3 separate regions of the Homo sapiens genome follow, and regions 1 and 3 are each linked to region 2. The links are contacts of gene promoters, found by promoter capture Hi-C in blood cells and fetal thymus (Javierre and others, 2016). All regions are on one chromosome and are shown on one strand. Each heading gives the region's core, a stretch centred on a gene start or on the middle of the fragment in contact. The rest is flanking DNA. Distances are from core to core; before and after follow the strand shown. Region 1 holds the start of LCE3D (late cornified envelope 3D). Region 2 holds the start of LCE2C (late cornified envelope 2C). Region 3 holds the start of LCE3C (late cornified envelope 3C).

What was found. Contacts are between HindIII fragments. The CHiCAGO score rates a contact against its expected background, and 5 or more counts as called.
Region 1: a contact is called between the fragment with the promoter of LCE3D here and the fragment with the promoter of LCE2C in region 2, in 11 of 17 cell types (neutrophils, total CD4 T cells, activated CD4 T cells and 8 more). The highest score is 19.5, in neutrophils.
Region 3: the fragment with the promoter of LCE3C here is called in contact with the fragment with the promoter of LCE2C in region 2 in 2 of 17 cell types (activated CD4 T cells and naive CD8 T cells); the score reaches 6.8 in activated CD4 T cells.

Annotation. Positions count from the first base shown.
Region 1 is chr1:152,579,091-152,582,684 of GRCh38, forward strand. It overlaps LCE3D (late cornified envelope 3D), which reads right to left and starts at 1,426. Exons shown (of 2, transcript NM_032563.2): 1 at 1,379-1,426; 2 at 291-867. The coding sequence starts at 846. The coding sequence ends at 568. The HindIII fragment of the contact is 6,032 bases long and covers 1,175-3,594 here.
Region 2 is chr1:152,673,611-152,677,246 of GRCh38, forward strand. It overlaps LCE2C (late cornified envelope 2C), which reads left to right and starts at 1,669. Exons shown (of 2, transcript NM_178429.5): 1 at 1,669-1,718; 2 at 2,385-2,959. The coding sequence starts at 2,406. The coding sequence ends at 2,738. The HindIII fragment of the contact is 8,836 bases long and covers 1-3,636 here.
Region 3 is chr1:152,598,638-152,602,018 of GRCh38, forward strand. LCE3C (late cornified envelope 3C) reads left to right here and starts at 1,597. Exons shown (of 2, transcript NM_178434.3): 1 at 1,597-1,647; 2 at 2,070-2,449. The coding sequence starts at 2,095. The coding sequence ends at 2,379. The HindIII fragment of the contact is 2,575 bases long and covers 63-2,637 here.

The DNA of each region.
Region 1 (3,594 bases), core at 176-2,675, 95 kb before region 2:
GTAGCTAGCTCCTCCTACGACTGGGGAGTCCATTATGAGAGGACAATCACATTTCAGTCATTCTTTTCTGACAGTTAGAGGCCTCACTACAACCCCTCTCATCACATCCTGTCCCCCACTGCCGCACAATTCCAGCAGAAAAGGACTCGACAGATTCCTGAATTTTGCAGACCTAGAGCTAGAATTCTGCATCTTCCCTGTGGTGGTGCTGGATGTCAGGGGCAGACAGGAGGGCACACTTCCAGCCCCACCTAGGGAGAGACAGAGTGAAATGCCAAGGGAGACACCAGTGGTAATGAGGACAAGGAGCTTTATTTTTTGATGAGGTCAGGCACAAGCACTGCCAATCCTTCACAGGTACAGGGGTAAGGGAACATGTGACATCCTGGACATCAGACAGGAAGTGCCTTCTGGGGAGAGCTCAGACCTTCCACAGGAAAACCCCTAGCTCAGCCTGTGAAAGCCAGAAGAGGGTATCTGGGAACTCATGCATCAAGATGGGGTTTTCCTGGGCCCTTGGGATTCTTGTTTCCTCCAAAATCGCTTGTCTCAGCATCAGGATCCAGGTCAGCAGCAGCCTCCAGAGCCATGGCCGCAGCCAGAGCCCCCGCCTTGCTGACCACTGCCCCTGTCACAGGAGTTGGGCCTCTGGCGCCGGCATCGGTGGTGGCGCCTGTGGTGGTTCAGGAAGCAGCCGCCCTCGGAGCTAGGGCCACAGCCCCCAGAGCTTGGGGCACAGCCAGAGGAAGCTGGAGGCAGACACTGTACTGGGCTCTTTGGGGGACACTTGGGTGAGGGACACTTGGGTGGGGGTTGGCACTGCTGCTGGTTCTGCTGGCAGGACATCTTGGCAGGAGTTGAGTTGTCCTGGACAAAACAAAGCCATTTGTTAGTCCAAAATCTACAGTCCAATGTCTCTAAGACCAGCGGCCTCCTGAGGCAAGAGCTGCAGGAAGGTGAGGGAAGCTGATGTGGAGTTGGTGGGACATGCCAGATGCCTCTCACTTTGTTCTCCACCAGGGACAGATTGCTGTGAGTCTAAGTGGGCATCCATGTTTCTGTTTCTCCAAAGAGCCTCTAGGAATGTACCCTTTTGACAAAAGGCATTCTGGAGAATGGAGATCATAGGAAACATGTGCCAGCCTGAGTAGAAAGAGGATGGGAAGGAATCATAAGCTTCTGTGGCCTTTGCAGGTCATGGAATTGCTGTCAGTTCCTGCAGGGTCTCCCTCCTGGCCCCAGTTCCCACATTGGTACCCTCTCTGCCATCCTCTCTCCGGGCTTTTGTTTCAGATCTCTCCATTTCCCTCTCCTGCTATGACCTTAGTTTTCTGTTCCAACATCCCAAGTTGAGTCCCATCCCCTGCTGGACACTCACCAGGTGCAGAGGAGGCAGGAGAAGGCTGTTCCTGAGGAGACGGTGGATGAGGAGCCCAGGGCAGGAGTGCTTTTATCTTGTGCACGGTGTGTGATGCACAGCCTGGGCATGCTGCTGCTTTCACAACCAGGGGAGGTGTCAACAAGGCACACGCCCAAGACTAGGTTTGTAGCTTTGGCACTTCCATAATATCCAACCAATGACATTGAACCTGGAAGCAGGATCACTGTCCACATACCTCTCACCTGGGAGGCTACCACTGCTTCTTTTCTTCCTCCCTTCTTCCTTGTTTCAACTCACGTGCTGTGGAGCACAGTCTGTCCTTTACAATTTCCTGGGAATTAGTATGACATAATTCTTTCTTGAGTCATGACTGGAGAAATAATAGTCATTTCAACAAATAGAGATGAAATAATTGGACGTCCATATGTAAAAGAAATCATACCTAATGCTAGATATAAAAATTAATAGATCATAATTTAAAAAATTAAACTATGAAACTTCTGCAATAAAACATAATAAATCTTTGTGACTTTGGGTTATGCAAAATTTTTCAGATATGCCAAAAAGGTACAATTCAAAAAAGAAATATAGGACTTCATCAAAATTAAAAACTTCTGCTTTTCAAAAGGCACTGCTAGGCAAATGCAAAGAAAATTCACAGACTTGGAGACAATATTGTAAAACACAAATCTTACCAAGGACTTGGTTCAAGAATTTTTTTTTTATTTTTATTTTTTGAGACGGAGTCTTGCTCTGTCGTCCAGACTGAAGTGCAGTGGCGCGATCTTGGCTCACTGCAAGCTCTGCCTCCCGGGTTCTCGCCATTCTCCCTGCTCAGCCTCCCAAGCAGCTGGGTCTACAGGCGCCTGCCACCACACCCAGCTAATTTTTTTGTATTTTTAGTAGAGATGGGGTTTCACTGTGTTAGCCAGGATGGTCTCTATCTCCTGACCTGTGATCCACCCGCCTCGGCCTCCCAAAGTGGTGGGATTACAGAGCCACTGTGCCCGGCCAATGTTTTTTAAATTCTCAAAAATAGGTAATAACACAGAAAATATGGGCAAAGTATTTGAAGAGTCATTTTAACAAAGAAGATATATGGGTGGCAGTTAAGCACATGAAAAGATACTCAACCTAATCAGTCATTAGAGAAATGCAATTTAAAAGCAAAGTGAGATACCACTCTATACACATTGGAATGGCTAAAATGAAATAAATGACAATATCAAGTAATATGAGGGATGTAGAACAACAAGAAGCCCAAGTCATTGCTGGTAGAAATGCAAAATTACATTAGTTGGCAGTCTATCAAAAAAATTAAACATACAACTTACAATTTGCCCCAGAAATCCTATTCTTAGATATTTAGCCAAAAGAAATATAGTTGTATGTTCACAGAAAAACCTGTAGCCCAACATTTATAGTGGCTTTATTCATAACTGCCCTGAATTTGAAGAACCCCACAAGATCTTCAACTGATGAATAGAGTTTTAAAAATGGTATATTTATGCAATGGAAGGCTACTTAGCAATAAAAAAGGAATCAACTACTGATATATAAAACAACAGGGATGAATCTCAAATGCAAAAGAAGTCAGACTTTACATACTACATATTATATAATTTTAATTATAGGGCATTCTTGAAAAGGCAAAATTATAAGAACTGAAAATAGGTCAGTGGTTGCCAAGGGCTGGTATGAGGGAGAGGCTGATTTAATAAGCAGATGAGGGAATATTTTGAGGTGATAGAACTGTTGTATGTCTTAGTTGTTGTGGGGTTTACCTGACTATATATGTTAGTTAAAGCTCATAGAATTGGATAATTAAATGGATGATATTTTGGTATACAAAATCTCAAGAAATGAAACTTAAAATAGAAAAAACAATTAAAATAACAATTTTTAGAAATAAAAAATAATGAAATATACCAAAAGGGAAGCAAAGAATGATGAATACAAGATTTAGGATCATGGTTATATTAGATGGGACAGGCAGGGACATGGGTGAAGGCTGAATTACACAGGTGCATATAATTTACTATCAAAGTTATCATTTTCGCTTGGATGGTGAATTTTTGTGTGTTTGTTATTTAAATAATAGACAAACAGGTAGGCACATTAATTAAGAAGGCCAAGCATGGATGAATTGTGAGCATATAATATGAACAGAGGGTATTTGTTAATCTAATTTTGTGCTTCTGAAATCCAATAGT
Region 2 (3,636 bases), core at 419-2,918:
CAATTCTAATTTTTAACACCTTTATTGAGATGTAATTAACATATTTGTAGTTCATTTGTTTAAAGTGTAAATTCAATGGTTTTCAGTATATTCACAGAGTTGGACAATCACCACCATAATTTTAGAACATTTTCATTACTTCACAAAGAAAACCTGTATCCATTGGCAGTAACTTCTCAATATCTCCCAGCCCGCTAAAGCACCTGGAAGCCACTGATATTTCTCAGAGGACAGGCATAAACATAAAAGGAGATACAGGGAACAGAATCTCATCCAGGCTCTTGTTCCTCGGATGCCCTGAGTCAGCTCTTCAGGGGTCCAGCCTGGGAGAGGCTGTAACTGGCTAAAGCCTCATCCCCTTTCTATTTCCAGAGATTTGCCTACTCTACACATTTCATATAAATAACATCATACAATATGCAGTCTTTTGTGACTGGCTTCTTTCACGTAGTGTAATGTTTTCAAGGTTCACACTCAATGTATCTGTTTAAACTAAATGAATAAATGACTGGGTAACTCTGTCTAGTGCAACCCTGAATCAGAACTCTGAATAACTAGATTCCTGGCTGACCCTCTACTTCCTGGTAGGAAAGGAGTTCCCTCTGCATAGGAGCCCCAAGAAATGATGTCTACTTCCCAAGACAGGTTTCAAATAATCTAAGTGTCTGGTGGAGTTAAGCTCTCTGAGGGTAAGGGCTCTATATGGGCAATTAATGACACATAAGACCGGGGCAAGTATCCAATACATGGCATTAGTTTTTCTATTAAACATATATTTATTAAGGGTCTATCAGGCACAAAATGTCATACTTAGCTCTTTCTTGCTTCTCACTTTATATTACAAACAGCTCAGTGAGATAGGTATATCTCACTGATAGGTTTATAATGGGCATTATATGTGAGAACTGATACTCACAGTGAGTATCATAGTAATACTCTAGCAATTATTGATAATTGTTACAGCAACTTTCAGAGATTACCCAGTTATCATATGCAAGTTTTCTGATTCCAGTAGCACATTCAATACAAGTCCTCTGACTGAAGGAAATGTTTAGATTTTAGAGGGAATTGTTTATTCTCAATCATTCTCCTTGCTTTAGGTGACAGAATCAACTCAGATTTAATCCACCGAATCTGCTTGCCATGGTGAGTCGGAGGAAAAGCAGAAACACAGAGGCCAGGAGGAAGGGCTGAGAGCCTAGGCAAGGGAGGGATGCCTAGAAAAAGCCAAGGCTGTAGAAGCCCTCTGGGATGGCTGGATCCACAGCAGGACATGGAAGAGAAACTGCTCAGGGTGGAGGGAGTCATAATGGAACATTTCCACAAGGTCAGGGAAAGCTGTGGCTCAGAACTGATGTTTCCTCAGAGGACATGCATTAAAAAAATGCAGGGAACAGAATCTTGTCCAGGTGTGGGTCCCTTGGGTACCCTAAGTTAACTCTTTAGGGTTCCCACCTGGTGGAGGCTCTGACTGGCTACAGCCTCTCTAGACTGCAGCCCCAGAGAGGAGTCCTGGAAGCTCCTGAGGCCTCTTTGGATTGCAGGGACTAAGAGGCAGGAGAATGTCAGGAATGACCCAGCGTGTGCCTGGTTGTGCAAGAGCCACCTCCTGCTCTTTCCAGAGCCAAGCCTGGGCCCTATAAAAGACACATCCAGCTTCAGCATCTCATCTGCTCTGACTCCCCAGGGACGTGTCTGTGCTCCTGCGTGTGACCAGGGTGAGTGGCAACCTGGGATACCAGAGGGGTATGAGCAAGGCAGAGGGATGGGGAGGATGGAGGTAGGCTGGAGAAAGAGTTGTGTGCTTGTGTTCTGCCATACTGAGCAGGAATGGGACTCAGCCTGCCTCGAATCTGTTGAGGCTCTGAGGCCTACCGGAGCTCATATAGGTGGGGAAAGCTAACTGTGCACATCTTTTCCAATTCTGTGTTCAGTGACTTCATGTTGGTAACTTCAAAACTGCTGTGTTGGGCATATTTACACCATGGAAACTGGCAAATACTTCAAGCCAGGCTCTTTTATCTGGAGGTTTCATTGCAAAATATTTTCCAGAGGACCCCTTGGTATGTCCTGCAACACCCAGCTTGTCCTTAGGGCTTGTATTAAAGGAATAGGTACTTCAGGGAGCTGTGAATACTCTATTCGGGCTTGTGAGGATAGAGCAATCGCAGTTTCCCCTGAAAGGAAGAGTAAGAAGCTCATTCTGTTGATTTTTTATCTACGTACTTTTATCTAGAGGAAAGATTCAAGTTGTTTCTTTCAGGTTACTGATGTGATTGTATTATCTAAATATCATTCTTCTTCTACACATGCATTGATTTTAGAAGAGGTATAATATGATCCTTGGTTTGAAATATTTAAAGAGTTTCATTATTATCTTTCAGGTTGACTAAACTCCTGCCAGCATGTCTTGCCAGCAAAACCAGCAGCAGTGCCAGCCCCCTCCCAAGTGTCCTCCCAAGTGTACCCCAAAATGTCCACCTAAGTGTCCCCCCAAATGCCCACCACAGTGCCCAGCTCCATGTTTCCCTGCAGTCTCTTCTTGCTGTGGTCCCAGCTCTGGGAGCTGCTGTGGTCCCAGCTCTGGGGGCTGCTGCAGCTCTGGGGCTGGTGGCTGCTCCCTGAGCCACCACAGGCCCCGTCTCTTCCACCGGCGCCGGCACCAGAGCCCCGACTGCTGTGAGAGTGAACCTTCTGGGGGCTCTGGCTGCTGCCACAGCTCTGGGGGCTGCTGCTGACCTGGGCTACAGAAGAGCTCTTGGGACTGAATGGCCAAGAACCTGCTACGGCCTGATGGATACTCTTTCCACTTCCTCTCATTCCATTCATTGGTTGGCAGAGACCACAAAGACTCATGGGGCTTTCCTGGAAGAACTTCGTGCTTGATGTAACACCCCAATTGCAAGTCTTCTTTTCCTCCTTTACCTCATGTTATAATAAAGCTCTGATCTCTGACTCACTAAATGTCTTGGTCATTCTCTTCTCTTCTGAGATTTCAAATGTCCTCCAAAGGTCAGGGCCTCAGAGTAATTTTCTTCATGAGGCTAGGACAGGACATGAGTAGGTGATACATGAAAAGCTGCTCTGAGGAACTGATTCCCCCAGATGCTGAGTGAATGGAGCTCCAAGAGGGTCACCTCTGGCTATGGTAGCTTTGCCTTTCTCTCCACTAAGCCAGACACATGTTCTAATTTTCTGTGTAATCCAGACGTTGGGAAGGTTGGGAAGCTCTGCAGACTTGTTCTTCTCTAGGGAGAAGAACACATCCCTATGAAGCAAAACTTTCCTGCCCTTAGAATCAATAGTTGGATAAAATGCTTGAAACAGATGTTGAGACCCTTCCTCCTGTAAAGTACAGCCCATGGTCACTCAGCTTCTTTTCATGAGTCTGGTTAAGATCAGCCTTTTGACTTGCTGCCTTGGACACCTGGCTTCAGTTCCTCACAGTGTTAGATCTGAGTCCCAGGATGCTGTCCTGCCACTTGGCTCACGTGCTGGGCAGGGGAGTGATGAGTGATGGAGATATTAAGTGAAAAAACATGGAAGTGTTGCTTAGAAGATACAAAGAATATAAGGAACATAAGAATACAAAGAATACAAAACGCTGTATGAAAGAATAGACCTTTCCTCCTTCAA
Region 3 (3,381 bases), core at 347-2,846, 75 kb before region 2:
TGACCCTAAAAGTACAGGCAACAAAATAAAAAATAGACAAATGTGGTTGCATCAAAGTAAAAAGCTTCTGCAAAATAAAGCAAACAGTTAATGGAGTGAAGAGACAACATACAGTATGTGATAAAATATCTGTGAACTACACATCTGATAAGGAGTTAATATTCAAAATATTTTAGAAACTCAAACAACTCAGTAGCAAGAAAACACATAAACCAATCAAAAAAGTGGGCACAGGGAGTTTCCCAAAAGAAGCCATACAAATGGCCTACAGTATATATAAAAATGTGCTCAACATCGCTAATAATCAGGGAAATGCAAGTTAAAAACACAATATCACCTCACATCTGCTAGAATGGCTATTATCAAAAGACAAGAAATAACAAGTATTGGCAAAGATTTGGAGAAAAGGGAACCTTTTTACAGTATTAGTGGGAAAGTAAAGTAGTATGGCCATTGTGGAAAACAGTGTGAAGTTTCCTTAAAAAATTAAAAATGAAACTACTATGTGATTCAACAATCCCACTACTGGGTATATAGCTAAAGGAAATGAAATCAGTATTTTGAAGAGATATCTGCACTCCCAAATTTATTGCAGCATTGTTTACTACAGTCAAGATATAGAATCAACCTAAGTGTCCTTTAGTGGGTAAATGGATTAAAAAACATGTTATATAAGTGTAATGGAATACAACTCAGCCTTATATAAAAAGGGAAGTTTCTAATTTGTGACAACATGTATAAACCTGAAAGATATTATGCTAAGTAAAATAAGCCAGATATAGAAAGACAAATATTCGTGATCTCACTTTTATGTGGAATCCTAAAAAGTCGAGTGCGTGGAAGTAGAAATGATCATTATCAGGGGTTGGGTTGGGGAGTGGGGAAGAACTGGGGAGATGTTGGTCAAAGGATACAAAATTTCAATAAGACCGGAGTAATAAATTCAGGAGATTTATTGTACAGCATGATGACTATAACAATGTATTGTATTTTTGAAAATTTCTAAAAGAGTAGACTTTGAGTGGTCTTATTACAAAAAATGGTAAGTGTGTCCAGCTGTCATTCCTGGAGAACACCTGAAAACCATCACCCTTTGGGACCATCAGTGCAATAGAGGACTGACTTACAAAGGCTGTGGTCTTAGGCTTGAAGTCTTTTTAAACACTTCTGTGATAGTGCTTATTCTGTCAGATCAAATATATTTACTTTTCTGAGTGATAGTCCATTTAGGCTGTAAGGTGCTCAATGGAAGAAATATGTCCGATACATCTCCATACTACTACTGTTGAAAGAAGTAAAACGAACAGAGCTTGGAATGAACAAGCAGAGGTGGGCAGGAGGTACAGGGTGGACCAGAGTGGGAAGTACTTCTGCAGTCACGAGGACATCCTGCTTCCATCTTATTAAATCTTTAGGCATGTGCCCAGGAAGACACAGGGGTCATCTTATTACACCTTTAGGCACATGCTGAGGCAGCAGGCAACTGGGAAGTGTCTGGTGCTGTCACCTCCCTGGTTGTGAAAACAGCAGCATACTCAGGTTGTGCATCATCGTGTACACTGCACGGGATAAAAGGGCTCCTACCCTGGGCTTCTCATCCACAGCATCCTTAGGAGCAGCCTTCTTCTCCTACCTCCTCTGCATCTGGTGAGTGGCCAGCAGGGGACAGATCCTCAGCTGGGAGTGTTTGGGAAAGAGAGGCCCAGAACTGAAATGGAACCATCAGAAAGAAGCCCACAGTGGGCAGCAGTGGGGGAGGTGATGGAGAATAAGGAGCCTCTAAAGCACATGTCAGGGACCCGTGAGCTGCAAAACCCGCAGGACCTTAGGATTCCTTCACATTCTTGTTTGGAGCATGTTGTCAGGAATGCACATAGATCCATTTTATATTTTTAAGGTTGCTTTATCCAAATGCATGTGTAGGGTTCCCTCTACTACATTCCCATTTCTCTCCTACAGATCTTGGCTTAGAAAGTGGCTTCATCAAGGGGGTCAGTGTGTGACAAACCCAAAAATAAGGAGATGGTCTGAGGGTTCTGTGCTCAAATGTTTCTATTATTCTGTTCAAGGTAAAATTCCTGCATTCCTGCAAAGATGTCCTGCCAGCAAAACCAGCAGCAGTGCCAGCCCCCTCCCAGTTGTCCCTCACCCAAGTGTCCCCCAAAGAGCCCAGCACAGTGTCTGCCTCCACCCTCTTCTGACTGTGCTCTAAGCTCCGGGGGCTGTGGCCCCAGTTCTGAAAGTGGCTGCTGCCTGAGCCACCACAGGCACTTCAGGTCCCATCAATGCCGGCGCCAGAGATCCAACTCCTGTGACAGGGGCAGTGGTCAGCAAGGCGGGGGCTCCTGCCGTGGCCATGGCTCTGGGGGCTGCTGCTGACCTGGATCCTGATGATGAGACAAGTGATCTTTGGAGGAAACAAGGATCCCAAAGGCCCAGGAAAAGCTCCATCCTGATGCATGCTTTTCCAGATACCTTGTTCTGGCTTTCACAAGCTGAGCTGGGGGTGTTCCTGTTGAGTATCCAAGCTGTCCCCAGAAGGTGCTTCCTGTCTGGTGTATAGGATCTCACAGTTCCCTCATCCCTGCCCCTGCCAAGGATTGGCAGTTCCCTGTGCCTAACCCTGCCAAAAAATAAAGCTTCTTGTTCTCATTACCACGGTGTCTCACTTGTTAGGAAACTATCCAGGATTTATCCATCCAGGCCAGGTTCTCCTGTCACCCGAACTCGCAGGACCTTAGAAAGCCAGAGATTTAAGTGTGTTACCCCTGGTAGAGGTGACCCCAGAGAGCTGACCTCATGCTCGGGCAAGTAACTGGGCTGTGTTCTCCCAGCCAACCCTCTGTCATCACAGGACACCTGCTCAGCCTCAGACCTGTGTAGTTTTTGCTCTGATGACAAACAGAGGAGCGAGGAATTGGGAGCCCCTCATGGAGGGGAGGAAAGGTTGATGGGCACCATCACCAGGATGGGTATGGAGCCTCCCAAGCCAGGCATCAGGGTTGGGGCTGTGGAGAAACTCATTTGTGGACATCTGCTGCATTCCATAGGAACAGAAAGGGCCCCCCATTACAGTTCTGGGGTGTTCTGAAACTTCAGAACTTACTCCTCTGTTGTTGTATCCCAATGACTACAGATTTTACTCCTAAGAAGCAAAAGTGGTCACTCAGCTATATTCAGCCCCACAATCTGGCTACCATGAGAAAGTGCTTGGTCTATCTCTTTTAAATGTCTCTTTGCAGGACAGAGGCCACTGAAGGGACCCTTAACATTAAGAGTAAAGTGGCCACCCAAGAGTAGTTCAAGGGATAATTCCTGAAAATACTTCCAAGACAGAGACAGGGGTCATGTGCTGGAGGCAGGAAAATGCTGCTGAGAATA